Regions from separate parts of the Homo sapiens genome. Here region 2 is linked to region 1. The links are contacts of gene promoters, found by promoter capture Hi-C in human tissues and cell types (Jung and others, 2019). All regions are on one chromosome and are shown on one strand. Each heading gives the region's core, a stretch centred on a gene start or on the middle of the fragment in contact. The rest is flanking DNA. Distances are from core to core; before and after follow the strand shown.

Evidence for each region. The method cuts DNA at HindIII sites, captures the fragments that hold promoters and counts their contacts. A contact is called where the count stands out against the background at its distance.
Region 2: the fragment with the promoter of UBE2Z here is called in contact with the fragment with the promoter of PNPO in region 1 in 1 of the 25 tissues and cell types used here (dorsolateral prefrontal cortex).

The regions. Positions count from the first base shown.
Region 1 is chr17:47,938,521-47,942,827 of GRCh38, forward strand. It overlaps PNPO (pyridoxamine 5'-phosphate oxidase), which reads left to right and starts at 3,051. Exons shown (of 7, transcript NM_018129.4): 1 at 3,051-3,293. The coding sequence starts at 3,156. It overlaps SP2-AS1 (SP2 antisense RNA 1), which reads right to left and starts at 2,884. Exons shown (of 3, transcript NR_103857.1): 1 at 2,827-2,884. RefSeq lists an enhancer at 2,803-3,097. The HindIII fragment of the contact is 7,163 bases long and covers 1-4,307 here.
Region 2 is chr17:48,906,624-48,910,930 of GRCh38, forward strand. UBE2Z (ubiquitin conjugating enzyme E2 Z) reads left to right here and starts at 1,784. Exons shown (of 7, transcript NM_023079.5): 1 at 1,784-2,197; 2 at 4,185-4,257. The coding sequence starts at 1,881. It overlaps LOC105371814 (a long non-coding RNA gene), which reads right to left and starts at 2,360. Exons shown (of 4, transcript NR_135674.1): 1 at 2,316-2,360. RefSeq lists silencers at 1,923-2,172, 2,443-2,572 and enhancers at 3,446-3,495, 3,516-3,565. The HindIII fragment of the contact is 7,727 bases long and covers 1-4,307 here.

The DNA of each region.
Region 1 (4,307 bases), core at 1,801-4,300:
CAGTATTACATGTCTCCAGGTTCCCCCAAGTGCACCATGCCTTTACTCACAATGTTCCCTCTTGCTGGGACGCCTGTTCCATTGTCCATCTAGCGAAAACTTACTCATTAAGACATCAAATGTCCACTCCCTTTACAAAGCCTTTCCTGACTGTTTGATCCTCTTCTTTTTGCTCCTCTTTACTGTACAGAAACACCCGTTAAAATATCTCAGGAGGCTGAGGCAAGAGAATCTCTTGAACCCAGGAGGCGGAGGTTGCAGTGAGCCAACATTGTGCCACTGCACTCCAGACTGGGTGAAAGGGTGAGACTCTGTCTCAAAAAAAAAAAAAAAAAAAAATCTGCAACAACTCTTAAGCTCACAAATCTGCCTCCCCCTATAGACTACAAGCCCGGGTTGTCATCTTCATCTCAATATTCTCAGACCTGGTTCAGTGCCCGGTCCAAAGGAAGTATTTAACAAATGTCTACTGAATTAATACATAAATATGTATCTACTTCCACTATACTGAGCTGTTGGCTTTTAAGTACATAGATGATCTTAGTCTTGGTGTCCTAGAATCCAGGTCCAGGGTAGCAGCAGCCCAGGAGTGCTGAGTGTGAAGAAAAACCCCATGGCCAGGCACGGTGGCTCACGTCTGTAATCCCAGCACTTTGGGAGGCCGAAGTGGGTGGATCACTTGAGGTCAGGAGTTCCATACCAGCCTGGCCAACATGGCGAAACCCCATCTCTACTAAAATTACAAAAAATTAGCCAGGTGTGGTGGCACACGCCTGTAATCCCAGCTACTTGGGAGACTGAGGCAGGAGAATGGCTTGAACCCAGGAGGCAGAGGTTGCAGTGAGCCAAGATTGCGCCACTGCACTCCAGCCTGAGTGACAGAGGGAGACTCTGTCTCAAAAAAAAAAAAAAAAAAAACCCATGAACCAAACCCATCTGAGTTGAAGTGCACTCACTACTGCTTACACAGGTTCAACTGCAGGGGCTTAGGAGGGCAGGAGTACAGCAATGTTCTTATACAGAAAGACAACTTCGGCCAGGTGCGGTGGCTCACGCTTGTAATGCCAGCATTTGGGAGGCTGAGGCAGGCGGATCACAAGGTCAGGAGATCGAGACCATCCTGGTTAACGTGGTGAAACCCCATCTCTACTAAAAATACAAAAAATTAGCTGGGCGTGGTGGCGGGCGCCTGTAGTCCTAGCCACTTGGGAGGCTGAGGCAGGAGAATGGCGTGAACCCGGGAGGCAGAGCTTTCAGTGAGACGAGATTGCGCCACTGCACTCCAGCCTGGGCGACAGAGCAAGACTCCATCTCAAAAAAAAAAAAAAAAAAAAAAAAAAAGAAAGACAACTTCAACAGGAAAGTAAATCTACTCAACTTTCTCTCAATTATGCTGATGGAGGAAAATGATGGCAGCACAAAAAAATCCAACCAGTGGAGAATCCATAGACCAATATCATTAAGCCTTGAGACATGTATTATTTCTTTGCAGCAAAATTGTCTTCCAGATTCTATCTGGCTCAAGCTATGTACACATAAAGGATGACAGGTATCTAATGTAGGGCTTCATGAAGCTCAGCTGTAATGCAGACACCTGGCCAGGCCAGGAAGTTCCCCTTACCTGGCACAGTCCTGGGTGCCTGCCTAGATGGCTCTTGCAGTTCCCCTTCCTGATGCTGGTGGAAAGCAGGGCTACAGAGAGGTCTCGACCCAAGGCCGCCCCAGCCAGCTCAGAATTGGACTGGGCATGAGTGGGTTTCCCATTTTTCAGCCTTGCATCCACAGCCTGGAAAGGCTATGCACAGCCACCTGCTCAGTGTACTCTCAGTTGGCAATTGCTTGCATTGACCTAGGGGCTAGACTCCTACTACCTAGCATGGGCAAAATGTGGAAAAAGGGAAGCTTGACAAAGATTGGGGAGACCCTGGAGAAATGGGACATTGGCAGCCTTGCTATCTACCAGGACACTGGCTCCTATGAACTCCAGTGCACCATGGCAGGGGAAACCATGAGCAAAGGGAGTAAAATGCTCTGACCCTTGCTTAAATAAATGAGGCTGGAGGGAAGGGGTTTAAAACTAGAAGAGGTGGCGGGCGCGGTGGCTCACGCCTATAATCCCGGCACTTTGGGAGGCCAAGGCGGGTAGATCACTTGAGATCAGGAGTTTGAGACTAGCCTGGCCAACATGGTGAAACACCGTCTCTACTAAAAATACAAAACTTAGCCGGGCGTGGTGGCGGGCGCCTGTAATCCCAGCTACCCGGGAGGCTGAGGCAGAGAATTGCTTGAACCCGGGAGGTGGAGGTTGCAGTGAGCCGAGATCGCGCCACTGCACTCCAACCTGAGCGACAGAGCTAGTCTCCGTCTCAAACAAAACAAAACAAAACCAAAACTAGAAGAGGAAAACCACTCTGGTCTGGGATACCTTGGTCCCAAATTTCCTTCTTCCCCCTTCCCATTCAGCCATCTTCCTTCTCACCTCACCGTCTCTTCCTCACCCCACTGCACCTCCCCACTCGGGGCATGGTCCACAAGTCATTTCAACCTCTCCCACTCTCATGCCCTAATTTCTCCCCACAACCAGATTACCCTTTTCTCTATGTGTCCCCATCACCTTGCCTCAGAGTCTGGCCCCTAATTCCATTTTCCATTTTTCTTTTCCCATTCCACTAGTCTCCCTTCCCAGGGGGTACTTCCTGCCCTAAGCTCACCTACAGGCACCTACTATGGGCCAGCCACTTAATACTGACTACTCCCCTCAAGCCCCCGGGACACATCCTCCGCCCCGCCTGAGCTGCAAGAGATCCTCCTATACCTTTAACCAACCTCCACGTGCGTGTTAACCGCGGTGACAGCATTTCCTTGTCTCTCTGCTCCCGCCCCCAAAGGCGCTACCCATTGGCCGCTGGGTTCCTCTGTTCTCGCTCTAATTGGCCTCGTTACCGAAAAGCTCCAACCAATGACCTCTCCGTGTCTGTCTCCCTCCTCCGATCCTGGAAACTCATTGGCTCCGAGGACTTAGGACCTGTTAGCTTGGTTGGGCGACTGGCAAATCCTTCCTTCCCCGGGGTAGAAGTCCAGGGTGAGAAATTGGTTCCGAACTCAAAGGAACCCAGTGCCGGGCCACAGCCGGGTCACGTGGCCGGCGGCCCCCCATGACGTGCTGGCTGCGGGGCGTCACGGCGACGTTCGGGCGACCTGCCGAGTGGCCAGGCTACCTCAGTCACCTGTGTGGTCGCAGTGCTGCCATGGACCTGGGACCCATGCGCAAGAGTTACCGCGGGGACCGAGAGGTGCCGCCGCTAGGGCCAGGCCTCCTGCAGGGGCGGGGGAAAAGGGGTCCCCGGAGTCATCTACAGCGGGGAGGGGAGTAGTAGGAGCCCCTCGGGGCTTCTGGGGCCACCCGGTGGGGCAAGGAGGTTTGAGGATCACCCCCCGTGGGAAAAGGGGGCTTCAAAGACATCCCACCAGGGGAGGAGTTCCGGGGAAACGCAAATGAAGATGGGTTCAAAAGGCAGCCTTTCGTAATGGGTAAGAGCTCGAACTTTGGAGCCTGCCTGGGTTGGAATGTTTAATGTATCTGGGCCTCAGTTTCCTCATCTGGGAAGTGATAGTATCTGCCTCACGGGGATGTTATGGTCTAAGATGTTTGTAAAGTGCTTAGAACCCTGCTACTCGACAGGTAGCAAGGTCAAATAACTTGCTCAGTCCCACAGCTAGTGATGAATGAATCGGGGTTTCATGTGATGGATGTCAGGACTGTGCTGGGCCTCCCTCAAGGGCGGGGGAAGAGGGGTCCTCGGAGTCATCTACTGGGGGGAGGGGAGTAGGAGGAAACAGCCCCTCAGGGCTTCTGGGGCCACCCCCTGGGGCAAGGAGATTTGGGGGTCACCCAAACCTCCTTGTGCCAGGTGGGCATGGTCATGGGCCCCTCTTTAGGTGGGTACAGTGACAAACAGCTTACAAACTGTTTGACAAAAAAGTAAGTGGAATATGGGGGAAGGGGACTAGCTCGGGGAGGAGGGGAGGAGAAAGCTCTTAGCTTACTGCCTTCAGTACTTTCTGCTGACCACTGGGAAGTTCTTTTCCTTTTCGCTCCTCAGGAGGGGAACCAAGAGAACCTTTTAGGAATTGGGGTCCAGGGCCCTGGTTGCCAAATCTGGTTGCATGTGGGCATTTCTAGAAACGCTTGTTTAAAATGCAGTTTTTCCAGCCTGGGCAACATAGTGAGACCCTGTCTCTACAAAAAATTAAAATTAGTCGAGCATGTTGGAGCGTGCCTGTAATTCCAGCTACTTGGGAGGATG
Region 2 (4,307 bases), core at 534-3,033, 970 kb after region 1:
TTCTGTCTCAGCCTCCTGAGTAGTTGGGACTACAGGCGCCTGCCAACACACCCGGCTAATTTTTGTATTTTTAGTAGAGACGGGGTTTCACCATATTGGTCAAGCTGGTCTCGAACTCCTTACCTCAGGTGATCCACCCACCTCGGCCTCCCAAATTGTTGGGATTACAGACGTGAGCCACCGTGCCCGGCCCAGACTTCTTTTTTAAAAAACCAAACTTGGTGGCAAAACATCCAAAGTGAGGCTATTCATTTGACTTGGTACGAATGTTCATACACTTTGATGCAGAAATGTCAATAGGTTTGGCTACCCGGCGCTGCCCCACTCCTTGCTTGGTGTGTCATTCCAAAGTCTGAAATACATCTGGCCCCACTGGTTTCCAGTTAATATTGATCCTATATTTTTGCTAGGGAAAAAAGTTTTTGTTTTTGTTTTGAGACGGAGTCTTGCTCTGTCGCCCAGGCTGGAGTGCAGTGGCACGATCTCCGCCCACTGCAAGCTCCGCCTCCCGGGTTCACGCCATTCTCCTGCCTCAGCCTTCCGAGTAGCTGGGACTACAGGCGCCCGCCACCACGCCCGGCTAATTTTTTGTATTTTTAGTAGAGACGGGGTTTCACAGTGTTAGCCAGGATGGTCTTGATCTCCTGACCTAGTGATCCGCCCGCCTCAGCCTCCCAAAGTGCTGGGATTACAGGCATGAGCCACCGCGCCCGGCAAGGAAAAACAGTTTTTTAGGAAGGCCCCTGTCATTCTTAGTCCATAGGAATTTTTTTTTTTTTTTTTGAGACGGAGTCTGGCTCTGTCGCCCAGGCTGGAGTGCAGTGGCGTGATCTCAACTCACTGCAAACTCCGCCTCCCGGGTTCAAGTGATCCACCTGCCTAAGCCTCCTGAGTAGCTGGGACTACAGGTGCACGCCACCACGCCCGGCTAATTTTTGTATTTTTAATAGAGGCGGGGTTTCACCATGTTAGGCTGGTCTCGAACTCCTAACCTCGTGATTCGCCCACCTCGGCCTCCCAAAGTGCTGGGATTACAGGCGTGAGCCACCGAGCCTGGCAGATTATTTTTCACTTTAAACATTTTAGGAAAGACCCAAAGAATCCTCAGGGTTTACACTCACAGTACCTCGATTCCTGTATATTCCAAGATTTGTGGGAAGAAAAAGTACTAAGCTTGGAGTCAGGAGGCCTGATGTTTCTTCCTTTCACCAAGCTTCTCTAGTTCTGTTTCATTATCCCCATGGCAACAACTAGCAACAGTGACTGGCATTTAGTAGGCCCTTCATAAATATATGTTGAATAAACTCTAAAAGAGGTAGCTTTTCATTCCAAGTTGAGTTCTCTCTTGGTCCTGTTGCAGGCAAGGGCAATGGTACCCTGCCCTAGGTGCACAAGTGTGCAGGAGGGATCAATCGCAGAGCCTTTCCGAGAGAAGGGGCCCAAAGCGAGTCAACTTCTCTACTGAGCTTCCCATGAGGATGCTGGATCCCCAATCCTAACCATGCAGACGTCTGAGGGTCGCCGCCATTAACGGGAATGATATGGCCCTTCCTCCCCCACTCCCTCCTCTCTTCTCCCCTTTCAACACTTGAATTGGGCTCTCCGCTACTTCCGCACAGCGCAGGACCCACACGAGCCCAGAACCATCACGGCCTGCTAGTTCCCACCCCTCCCGTCCTGGAGGACCGTAGGTGGACGCTCTTGCAGAGCGCCTCTCGCTGGTTGGGGCGGGGGTGGGCGGAGCCAGCACCGTCTGGGCTGTGGAAGCGGAGGGGGTGGGGACACTCTGGCCCGGTTCTCGGTGGTGCGGGAGCGGGCGGGAGCAGCGGCCGCTCTGGTCGGCGGACGTGCTGCCGAGTAGTCCCGGAAGCGAAGCAGCGATGGCGGAGAGTCCGACTGAGGAGGCGGCAACGGCGGGCGCCGGGGCGGCGGGCCCCGGGGCGAGCAGCGTTGCTGGTGTTGTTGGCGTTAGCGGCAGCGGCGGCGGGTTCGGGCCGCCTTTCCTGCCGGATGTGTGGGCGGCGGCGGCGGCAGCGGGCGGGGCCGGGGGCCCGGGGAGCGGCCTGGCTCCGCTGCCCGGGCTCCCGCCCTCAGCCGCTGCCCACGGGGCCGCGCTGCTTAGCCACTGGGACCCCACGCTCAGCTCCGACTGGGACGGCGAGCGCACCGCGCCGCAGTGTCTACTCCGGATCAAGCGGTGAGCCGGGGTTTTTCCTCCCCCAGCCCCGAGCTCCGGGGCTCGACCTTCCCCGCCCCCCACCCTCTCCCACTACAACTCACCCCCCACCCACTGCGCTGCCCTCGCGGCGGCCCACCTCCACGGCCCAAATCTTGCCAGCTCCGGGCGTCGGGATCCAACTCCCTTCTCCCCCCACCCTCAGACCCGCAAGCACCAACCCCCGCCTCGTGTGCCCAGATCCGACCCCGCCCCTCGACAACCTCCCGTGAGCCCTCCGTCTCCATTCCGGCCACCCTCCCCCACACCTCCCACCTCCGGGTGGAAACCCGACCCTTTAGCGCTTCAGTAACGCCCCCTCCCGCCTTCGGCGCCGCCCCTATTTCCCCTTCCCCACCCCAACCTTGCTAGATGCTGCCCGCAGGCCCCACCCATCGGTCCCCTCTCTTCTCCTCTGGAGCCCCGTTCCTAACACAGACGAACTCAGCTTCCTTTGCCATGCCTCTGACTCGAGCCAACCTTTCTTTTTATCCTCCGTTTTTCTCAGATTCCCTCCACACAGTCTTTTCCCAGGTCTAGATCGCTTCCCTCGCCCCAATCTTTCCTTGAACCCCTTTTCCAGTGTCCCAAAGCTGTCCACTCTTACGCCTCTTCCAGAAACACAGGCTACCTCCCCCCAATTCCCCAGTGCCACTCTGGATTGTAATATCCCACTCAGGAGCTTCTTTCTTGTAATTTCCCTCCCCCCACCCCCCACCCTCCCCGGGTCGTCTGTTTTACTTCTATGAAGCAAATATACTCATCAAATATAGGAACAAAGGCCTAAGTCCTTTCTGTGCTTATTTCTTGGGTGACTGATCTTAGATCCTATCATTTAGTAGATGATGTTTTCCAGAAGCACATAGAATAGTACCTATCGCATAAGAAAAGGGCAGTGCTCTTTAGCTATTAATCCTGAAACCTGTTTGACTTCTCCCCATGCCCCCATCACAAGCATCTTCGTTTAGTTCTTATTCCCCATGTTCCACGTCCTTTCAGATGTCTCTGTGTCTACTTTTCAAGGTTGTAATAAAAATTAATATAATGTGTGTAAAGTACCTGGCACAGTGCCTGACACAGGAGGTCAACTGTGGAGGGATTGCCACCTCTAACTGAAACTCAGCACTCAACTCTTTTCCTCCTCCAGCCATTTCAGTCATCCAATTCTGACATACCTTTGAGTTTGGCCAATGCTTTCCTCTGCTTTGTCGCCTATTTGCCCTTTTTATGTCCCTACCCACCCTAGCAAGTCCCTAGGCTTTTCGCCACCTAGAATGTTCTTTAGCCCCTTGCTCTCAACTGATCCATTCCAGTTGGTGAGATATGAGTCAGAAATCTTATCTCCTATGGAAGTCCACATGTCATCTTCCAGATGGGAGATTCTTAGCAATTTCTGAGGATCCCTCCCCAGCCTGAAGAGATCTCTACCCTGAGACACCCCTGGGCAAGAAGGCCACCATGATAGTCTTACTCTCTGCTGGCTGGCTTGCTTCATACAATCCCCTTACCAATAAAGGTCCACTGTATAGTTTATAGAATTAGTTTTTTAGTGGAGTTGATGATGCCTTTCCAGTTACTAAAAAATCTTCATTTAGCATTCAGTCGTAGTACCTGGGAATCATGGAGGTGGGGAGTGAATGAATTGCCATGTGGGAGGAAGTGAGAGTAAGTGGAAAGTGGCTTTTCCAGGCTGACATTTGATGCCATTGGGATCTCTGATTTTTTTCCTCTCTCCCTCCCCTCCCCCTGAGGAAACAATGCCCTTTTGATAATAATTTGCTCTCTGCCTGCCTGACAAGTACTCAGCTGAGATTTCTCAGCCAACAAGACAGTACAAACACTTGCGGTACCAAGCACCACTTTCTCAAACCCTGGCCTCATTGAGGTGATAACAACTGTCCTGCTCAAGGGATTCCCCCTTTCCCCCTCTTCCTCACTCCTTCCCCCACCTCCTCTTGGTGTTATACAGGGATATCATGTCCATTTATAAGGAGCCTCCTCCAGGAATGTTCGTTGTACCTGATACTGTTGACATGACTAAGGTATGTAACTTGATGGGGGTTTGGGGGGTTTTGGGAAATTGGGGGCCATA